Regions from separate parts of the Homo sapiens genome. Here region 2 is linked to region 1. Evidence: promoter capture Hi-C in 16 types of primary human blood cells and fetal thymus (Javierre and others, 2016). All regions are on one chromosome and are shown on one strand. The core of a region is centred on a gene start or on the middle of the fragment in contact, and the rest is flanking DNA. Distances in the headings are between cores, read along the strand shown.

What was found. The method cuts DNA at HindIII sites, captures the fragments that hold promoters and counts their contacts. A CHiCAGO score of 5 or more calls a contact.
Region 2: a contact is called between a fragment that was not itself captured here and the fragment with the promoter of SPMIP5 in region 1, in 4 of 17 cell types (naive CD4 T cells, naive CD8 T cells, non-activated CD4 T cells and 1 more). The highest score is 9.6, in naive CD4 T cells.

What each region holds. Positions count from the first base shown.
Region 1 is chr10:116,667,492-116,672,094 of GRCh38, reverse strand. SPMIP5 (sperm microtubule inner protein 5) reads left to right here and starts at 2,129. Exons shown (of 6, transcript NM_001350931.2): 1 at 2,129-2,168; 2 at 3,772-3,837. The coding sequence starts at 3,783. It overlaps HSPA12A (heat shock protein family A (Hsp70) member 12A), which reads left to right. Exons shown (of 12, transcript NM_025015.3): 12 at 1-903. HSPA12A-AS1 (HSPA12A antisense RNA 1) reads right to left here and starts at 2,040. Exons shown (of 3, transcript NR_187551.1): 1 at 1,817-2,040; 2 at 1,610-1,701. The HindIII fragment of the contact is 1,303 bases long and covers 1,318-2,620 here.
Region 2 is chr10:117,159,427-117,164,334 of GRCh38, reverse strand. It overlaps MIR3663HG (MIR3663 host gene), which reads left to right. Exons shown (of 3, transcript NR_121651.1): 2 at 3,495-3,721. Among named protein-coding and RNA genes, the nearest start is that of MIR3663, 5.9 kb to the left of the region's middle. RefSeq lists an enhancer at 4,219-4,908. The HindIII fragment of the contact is 3,762 bases long and covers 1,694-4,908 here.

The DNA of each region.
Region 1 (4,603 bases), core at 880-3,379:
CTTTCCTGCCTTGCATTAATGCTATCTCCCTGTGTACTGTTTCTCTTAAATGAGCAGATAGAAATCTGCAGTGTTGGCAGATAGGTGATGGAGAGGATGATAATTTTATCTTCTGGCCACAGAGCTGCAGCCCCAGTTGTCAGAGTCCTTAAATGAAACCCCCAAATCCATCCCTCCTTCCCTACCCCCACTGGAATATTCTAGAATAAGAGCACTGGATAAGTACACTTGAACACATTTTTCTAACCTTAGAAAATACCTACAAGGCCTGTTGTCTTGACCCATTACTCAATTGTCCCTGGCATATTATCTGATCTTCACGTTTCTTGGAAGCAGAATCATCAAGGCTTTCCTTTGTAACTGCCCTTTCCGTACACAGCAGGCATGAATAAATGCTGAGTAACAGACAAGTTACAGACAGGAGGGGAAAGAGGAGGAACCATACAACTGTTTTTGCAAAATGATGGCTGAGTCCAGATTATAGAGGTTGCCTTACCCTTAGAATGTTATTTAGACCAAGTTTAGCTTTTAGAGTCCAGGTCTGGTTAATTGCCAGGGTAGCAAAGAATCGCATGCACCAATGTAAACAGGAGTCAGAATGCATTATTAGTCAAAGATCGAATTTCACATTGTAGAGATGTATAGCTGTGATTAAGCTGCATATGTATGCTGGGAAACGGCTTGAGTGGATGGCTAATATAAAAGTTGTTGGCCATAATGCCACACCTCTCATCTGCTTGAAATATGGACCAGTATTCTAAAATATCAGCTACTGGGGTCTCATTCACTACAAGATAAATTCAAACTTCACAGAACTTTGCAGCAGTTCACCACCAGACGGGACTGTGTCTGCAAACTCTCTTGTCTTCACAGACGCCTAATAAAGCAAAACTCTGAATCTCATGTGGCCCAGATTTTTTTTCCCCCCATCCTGGGTTTGCAAACTGCATGATGGACACGTCAGTACTGATCTCCCTCTCTACCCCATCTCAGGTGGTGGAGAGAGAGTTTCAGTTTTTTCCAGGTGCTGTAAGTTTTCTTAAGTTATTCTAACAAGACTAGGCCCTTTGTTTGCTGGGAACCAAGGCCCCATCGATGGGCACAGAGCCCCTTTTCTCTGGAAGAAAGTGGTCTAGCCAGAGGGAGGGCAGGTAAGCAGAGTGACCACTGCCAATGCCACTGCACCCCAGTGTAAGTCATTAAAACATGCAGAAGGCCTGGCTGGGCTCTTGCCCCTGGGCATCCCAGCCGTCACGTGAAACTGGCTGTGTCCAGAGCCTACACCTGAGTCGCCCTCCACAGTTGGCTCTGAAAGCTTCCTGATGGCCCGAGGTATGTTCTAAATGGGGTGATAAAAGAGAGGTATAAATGGTGGTCGGCTCCACCAGCCTTCATTTGCAGTTCAATTTTCAGAAAAGTAGAGGTAGGGAAGGCCGGGAGGTGCAGCAAACAAGCGTGTCCTGGAAGTAGCGCAGCTTCAGCGTCATTTTCTGTAAAGGGAGCAGCCAGCACATGCTGGTTCATAGGGCGGACATCTTGGTGGGTTTCAATTCAATGAGAGGAAGTCTGGGTGTCCCTCCAAGAGTGATTAGAAAGAAGGATGACTCACCTTCCCCAGGTGGACAGCCACTCCTCTCTGCCTTCACCTGTCCCGGCCACCTGAAAATCTGCCCCTCCTAACAGGAGACAGGGAGGGAGGGGCTGCCAGGCCCAGGAAGCTCCTGTATTGGAGGCGCCAGGGCCCCCAGGCCTCGCCTCCTCCCGCCCACTGCCGGCCCCGCCCCCTGTTCCCGCCCACCCGCTTCCCCGGCCAGACCTGCAGACCCAGGCGCCGCAGTGTCTACACCCGCAAAAACGCCCGCTTTGACTTAGAGCCCTCCGCATATCCTTCCCCTGGCTGGGGCAGCCAAGGCGCGGAGGACAGCTCCGAGGCCAGATGTTTACTGCGCAGATGCCCGACTTTACACCGGGGTCCGGGCTGTGCCGGGCGCTGGGGGAAGCGCCCACCTTCCAGGTGGGACCGCGGGAAGGGTGGGGGAGGGGCAGGCTGGCGGTGGTGGGGCCTTTGTGCTCCACCGGGTGAGCGCACAAAGGCCTGGTGGAAGGCAGGGATCCTGGGCGGCCGGGCAGAGGCCAAGTGGGCACCGGATAGCGCCAGCCCCGCCCAGGTGAGCGCTGAGGTGGGATTGGAAGAGGGTGGCTAGGAGGGGCCCTACTTTCTACCCACTCCTAGCCCCCTTTCTCAGGACACCGCCTTTCTTCCCACCCTCCTCCCTGCCCACCTCCTCCAGGCAGGCTTATACCCCAGCTGATGCTTTTGGGCAACATATCCTGTCCCTGAGAGTTTAGAGGTCATCTGTTCGCACCCCCTTTCACTCTGGAACCCTGAAACCAGTTACCTAACCTCTCTGTGCCTTATTTTTCACATTTATAAAATGGGGGTTCCAACAGGAACTCATTCTTAGGGAAGCTGTGGGGATTAAAGGAGAATGCGGTTCTGCTGCAACCACATGGGGATAGCCAGTGTTCCCTGTCTGTTGCCTTTTTAAATTGGGGAATGGGTATAATATAGCATTTATATCATGGGGCTGTTGAGAGGATTAAACAAGCGTGGAAAGCTTTCAGAAAAGTAAGCAGGTGGTCAGTATGGGTGGGACATGGTCTCACAGCCAGGTCTGTCTGACTCCAGGCCCAGTGCTTCCTCCCAGGAGTCAGGTACGTGATGCCAGGGGTTAGAGTGGCCTAGACGCGGCACAGTCCTCACTGCTGTCAGCCTGGCGGGGGCTGAACTGTCTTAACAATCCCCATCATTGCTGACTAAGCCATGACTGTGGCCCTCTCCTCCACCCTGAATCCTCTTCTTCCAGCCTCAAAGGCATTTCTTTAAAGAGATGAACTGGCTCAGCAGGGCAGGACTTGGCAAGGCCTCAGCCCACTTGGGGGGAATGACCAGCGATACCCAAAGAGGGAAGGTGTCTTATTGCAGAAACAGCATCCACATAAACTGATGTTTCAGTGGAGCCCCCTGAAGCAGAGGGTGGCCTCTGCTTACCCTCCTTGGACTCCATGTCTGCCTTTTGGGACTTCCTGATTCCTTCAAGCCAGAATTTCTTCTCCCTTGTTTGTGTGTGTGTGTGTGTGTGTGTGTGTGTGTGTGTGTGCATGTGTGTGCCGGCGGGTGGGGGGAGGCTTCTGAGCATTGCAGGATGTTCAGTAGCATCCCATCCCCCACTTCTGACAGCCAAATATGCCTCTGGACATTGCCAGATGTTCCAGGGGTAATGGTGGGGGCTGGCAAAAATCACCACTGCAACCTGATTTCACCTGGATCAAGAAGGAGGTCTGGGGGTGTGCGGGCCTCATCTCTCTCCTCACCTGAGGCTCATGAACCTAACACAGGGGCTTCTGGGCTTGCTCAGAAGCTTTGCATTCCCAGCCTCTATCATGTTTCACAGCCATAGTATGAGTACAGTTCACAATTGTTGGATGGCTGGAGGTCGGATGGAGGGGAGAGGAGACCCTGGTAGGTGTGATCTACACACTGTTATCCAAGTTAACATAAAAGGTGATGGGCCCTTGGTAATAGGTCATTGGTTTGTGACTGAAGCCAGCTGTGTCTCTGGCTTTGGGTAAGGTGGTAGTGCTGCCTCTCAGCCCCAACTCCTGGCAGTCATTCTTCCACTCCCAAGAGCTTGTGCACACTCAATAGTAATTCCTTAAGGCAGTGACTTTTGATGAGACCGTTTCATTCCCTCTTCCCTCCACTAACAGAGAGCGAAATCATGGAGCCTTCCAAGACCTTCATGAGAAACCTGCCAATCACACCAGGCTATAGCGGTAAGTGTGGACGTACCCTGCAGCTGTGCCTGGCAGGGGAACCCGGGTCCTGGTCACTGTCCCTGCCTTGACCCACTGTCTGTGTCTGTGCAGCCAACTGGACCAGTCTAGGCGCTCTAGCTTCTCAGACATGCATTGAGAGCATTCCATCGCTGAAGATGGCTGATGGCCGGGTTCTGAGGGGCAGAACTTAGACCACACGTCCCAGAACATGGCCTGGTATGCAGAGGAAGCACTTAATGCCTGTTGAATGAATTTGGACCAGGATAGACACAATGTGATGAGGATAGACACAATGTGATGAGGATAGACACATGAATAAGTAGAGGCCCTGTTCTCCCCAAGTTGGTTTTCTCAAGTCCTCCACAAAGGTTATTCTTGTGCTCCCATCCTTTCCTGCATCCCCTAAAGGAAGGCTGGCCAACTGCCCTGGTCTACCTGGGACTGCCTTTGTCCTGGGACTGCCTGGGACTTTCCTTAACACTGAAAATCTTGCATTTGGGAAACTCCTCAGTCCTTGGCAAACCAGGACGATTGGTTGCCCTACCTAGAGGCTATTCCTCCTCAGGCTTCTGGGCTACTGAGAACTTACTAAGTCATATCCCTGTGGGTGACAAACCCAGTGGTCCCCACAGACCCTTGGCTCTCCCATACAGCCGTTCTCAGGAGGAATAGTACTTGGGTGATATTCCAGGGTTGCCCAACCTCACTCTGGTCCTAATGGCTGGTTGAGAATAGGCTTTGGGTTCTGACAAGCTGAGGTTCG
Region 2 (4,908 bases), core at 2,325-4,824, 490 kb before region 1:
CATAGAACGGTCCAAATAGAAATATCCCGTTTTATTGCAACGGGTCCTTGGAAGAAGATACTTTATGTGGACGGTACTGGGACAACTGCTGAAGAAACGACAGACATGAAGGCATACTTGACACCAACATAGAGATACCCATCCGTCACCTTTGATCTCCCCTCCCCCATGCCACTGAGAAATAATTTTTTAAAAAATAGAAGCAAAATGGCAAACTAGACAATTTGAGACTTAAATAAAAATAGCTTTAGGCCCAGACCCACTGGAAGCTTTTTCTTTTTGACGCTGCCGTGTTTCTCTGATGCAACAGAAACCTCTGACCCCCCGCCCGGGGTCTCGCACCAAGGCCAGACAGCCCCGCTCCCGGGGTCACCCGAGGGTTACCTTTGGGTGCAGGCGCGGCCTTTCTCCGAAGGGAGGGGCAGCTCCCCTGCCCCTGCAAAATGAAGGAGAAATGATAAGCAGCGGTGAAACCGTCTAGAGGCCCAGCCTGGCACCCGCCCCGCCAGGTGCTGGGGGAGGCGACAGCCTGCAGCGCCAAGGGGATGCTCCTCGGGCGCAGCGGGCGGGACAGCTTGGGCTGTCCCTTTTGTTTTCAACGCTCCTCTTGCGGCGAGTTCCGGGAGTTTAGGGCCCCGGCCCAGAAAGGAAAAAGCGAGAAGGCGCGTCTGGGCTCTGTAGGAGTGCAGCCGCTGCCGAGTCCAAGCGGCCCCAGGCCAGGCCAGACGTTGAGGTGAGGTTGCCCAGCAGGCGGGGACCCCAGCTCGGAGAGGGTTCTCCGCGTCCCCAGCCGTCGGCGCAGGAAGTTGAGGCGGCCAACATGCCTTCGTCCCCACTCGACTCCCGGGCCCACGTGCTGGTCCACGCCGGGGACCTGAGAGCATCGCGACTAGGGGGCTGCGGGACGCCTCCCGAGCGTCGAGGAAAGACAGGACCGGGGGGAGCAGGCGGGGCCCACGCGGTTGCATTTCTCGCCCCGCCGCCGCCTTCAAGAAGCAGAACCCGGAGCCCCACCTGCACCCTCACTCCGGCCCCCGAGCCCGGCCTGGCCGGCAGTGCTCGGGGAGGCCCTGGGTGGCGCTGTCTCCTCCCCTCCTGCAAACGCCACCGCCAGAAAATCGCTCCCACCCCACCCGGCCAGGCGAGCCACCGACCCGGGGCTGCGTCCGCCTCGGTTCAGCCTCGGTTCAGCCTCTCCGGGTGCGGATCCCGGACCCGGCCAGCAGACGGAGGCTGGCGGAGCGCAGAGTCCCGGCGACTCCCACCTCCCGGAGGGGGCACGGGGACTTGCGTGGGGCGGGCGGGGGCCGGGATTCCGGGCGGGGCGAAGGGACCCAGCTCGGCTGCGGGGCGCGCGGTCGCTCTCCCTCAGGACTGCGGCTCGGATCCCTCCCTACCTCTCCCGGTCCCTCGCAGGACTCTACATCGCCTTCGGCGTTTCCTCTCCCTCCCGCAGTTTCCACCCTTCGGCTTGTCTTACTCTCGGCTCCTTCGCCCACCCTTTCCTCCCCATCCTGTCCCCCGCCCCCACTCTTCTGCAGTTTGTAACTGAGAGCGCCCCAAACAACCCCATCAAGCCAATAAACCCAAAATGTGAGCACTGCCCAAACCCGTGTGCTTATCCTGCCGCTTCTAGAAGGCAAATTGATACGGGGTGGATTTGGAACGGCTTTCTCAGAGAGGCCCGAAAGCTTTCAAAAATTCTAAGTCAGGAGACAGCTGGCTGTTTTCTTAGCACCTCTGCAGCGCTGAGGATGTCTTCATCCTCCTCAGACACCCCCAGCCCGGGGATGTTAGCCCATTGCCCAGATGGAAGACAGAGCAGGGAGGTAACCCCAGCGGTTACAAACTTGATTCTTCTCATGTGGTGGACTCCAGTCTTTTGAATACGATCTCTACCTCTTGTTTTCCCTTCTTATTTAATTTCTTGATGTTTTCTTGGATGGTTTAAGCGACAGGAGGAAGAGAGGGCAAAGGCAGCCCCCGTACCTTTCAATAGAGTGAAATGGCCTGAAATTACAGCTACATAACTATCAAAAATGAAACTGTGTTTGTGAAAATCTGTAACCCTAGCTATGTAATTGGAGACATTCATGAAAGAAGGATATTGCACAGGTGAAAGTGATTTTTCAATTGCTTTCATATTTTTAATATTTTTCCAAATTGTTGAGAGGACTTTTCCTGAATACAAGGATGAATGTTTCGGCTTGGAAAGTTCAGTGTAGCCCTAGTCATTGGAAGGCTACAGTTATCATAAATTGCTTTTAAAGTGTTTATTAAAGTGATTGAAATTTGTTTCTTTAAAAAAAAATAGTCTCTGAACTTGCAAACTTCCTACCTTACCAAATAGACTTTCCTGAGACTTGAAAATGGTTCCCATGAACTTTCTCATGGCAAAATTACACAGTAAACATGTTCCTGGAACTCTTTTTTAAAAGGAGTTGGAGCCCAATCTTCACAACCATTCATTTTCCTGCCAGATTCTTTGCATTGGGCATTTCCTTGTGTGCCTGGGACCTTACTGTTGTTGAAGCAGAAGTTCTCATATAGGAAATTTTGCATTACTGAAGAACTCTGCTTTAGGGCAAAGGCTGAAATGATACAGGTTTAGGCATCCCATGCCTACTGAGTGAGAGGTCATCGCATTAAATATTTTGAGCATGCTGACAAGGTAAGGAAGATGCAGAAACTCCTGACCAGATTCATGAAGGCTGAAGACAGAATTCTAAGCAGTCCCTTGTTTTGCATGAAGCACTGTGATATTGAGGAAGAGGAGGCGTTAAGATCGGAATTGCCCAAAGTGTCTACACACCTTCATATTTGTTACTAATTATCACCCCTTTTCCACTTCTCGTTGTGTTTGGCCAGCCCTGAATACCTGGAGACTGATCCGAGAACTGTTTGCTTTCGTTTCTTCCCACATATTTTTATTAACAACTTGAACTGATCCTGCCTAATCCAAATTCTTATACTTTGATCTTGTTCCTTAGCATCCACATTAAAGAGTTTTTCTGTTTCCACCAAATTTTTACCTCCCCCCCTTAACTTTTTCCCTATGCTAGTTCTCTCTGCTTATTATTCTCCCATTTATTCTCTCGACTTGAGGTTTCTGTGATGGTTACTTACATTAGTGACCACATTGCCAAAGCACCTTCAAAAGTAACTGATGCCCTTTATTACGTACTGGAGTTGCGTTTAACCAGGGAATCCTCATCAAGCCACAAAGGTGAGGGAGAAAACTGAGATAATTACATACAGGTAACAGGGCAAAAACACTGTTTTGTCTCATCATTGAGTTTTTTCCAAATGAATGTTTTTAAATTAGAAATATCAGATTAATGACTGTAATAAAAATATAAATTGCCTCTTTCCAATGTGTATTCAGGCCAGGATCCTCTTCTGCCAGTGACACCATGAAACAGAAAAGTTGTGTGTCTGGCCCCCAAATGCTTAGTTCCTGTTACTAACAATCGATATGGCGTTCTTCTTTGTAGGGAAACCTGACCTTAGAGGAAATGGAAAAGTTGGAGAGACACTGAGCACTGATACGAAATAATTCTCTTGCTGAAATACACGAAAGGAGTCCCAGCAGCCATATTAGTATTTCCACGTCCTGTGTCAGCCCCAAGTAGAGAGAACTTGGAATGGGAGGGGAAATGGCAGCCATCAGGAAATGAAATGCTGGCCCAGAGAATTCTAAGCAAGTCAATCACCAGTCCAAGTAAGGAGGTGTTTTTTGTTTTTGTTTTTGTTTTTGTTTTTGTTTTTAAATATCCACTTGCCATTTGTTTTACCCAATTCAAAATTTTTTCCCAAGAAAAAAAAATACACTTGTAAAATGCCTCATTAACAGCAAAGATGAATTGGACCTCAACTTTTGAATGCCATGCTGCTTTAAAGGAAACTGTAGAAGTTCGTGGAATGAAAGAATACTGCCAGCATGCATTCGGACTATTTTCCATCTGTGTGGTAGAGTCTGAGCTGTGTGTTCTACAGAAGCTCCAGTTGGCAGAAGGACGACTTTGGCCCTGAATTTTCATTTATTTTTGTTTCAAAAATGAAAGGATAGTTGCTATTTTTCCAAAATTTAGAATTTTAAATCACTACCCACTTTTGATCTCTGATTTAAATCTTGTTTTGAGAGACACATTAGACAGTCTCTACATATTATATTATCTTGCAAGGGAAAAAAGGAGAAAGATCGGAAAGTGCTGACTTTCTGTGTCAAATGAATGGATTATTGGCTTCATTCTTCTTTATTTTATAAAGGTTTTCTTTTCAAGAAATGCAGAACTTTACCAATACAATATATATCAGTCTAATCGGCAGTCATAAAATGGGTGGCATGAGGGTGGAATATGGCAGCAGGGAGATCTCAGCTGGCAGCAAAGCATGAAGTGGTGATTGTGTTTTTATGGAAAGCCTGTTTTGTCCAGTGGCTGATGAAATTCAAAATGGTCCCCTAAGCCTATCTCTGAAGCCAGCAGTTCAGAAGCAGTAGAGCTAGCGGCTCTCTTAACATCTGTACCCTGCCCCCTATTTACCCAGCGACACCCCAGCCCAGAGCACCTCCAAATGTAAGACTTAATATAACCAAATGGAAGCTGCTAGGAGGTACTCAGTTCCAGGATCAACAGTTTTTGCTTTAAAAAGAAGGTAGCAGTTCAGCCCCTTGTTTGTTTTTGCCTACGCATTTCCCTACCAGCGGGAGACCATTACCCGGGACAATGTTTTATTCCATTGTCATTATCTCCTACGGAACTAAAACAATGCTCTGTTTGGCCTCCCAGGCAAGGGGGATTTGTTCCGCTCTTCTTTAAGCAGAGTTTCCAACTGAGTTTCTGACCCAGTCACTTGATATCCAGCAGGGATACCTGGTGACAATTTTTTAAAAATCTGCTATCTTGT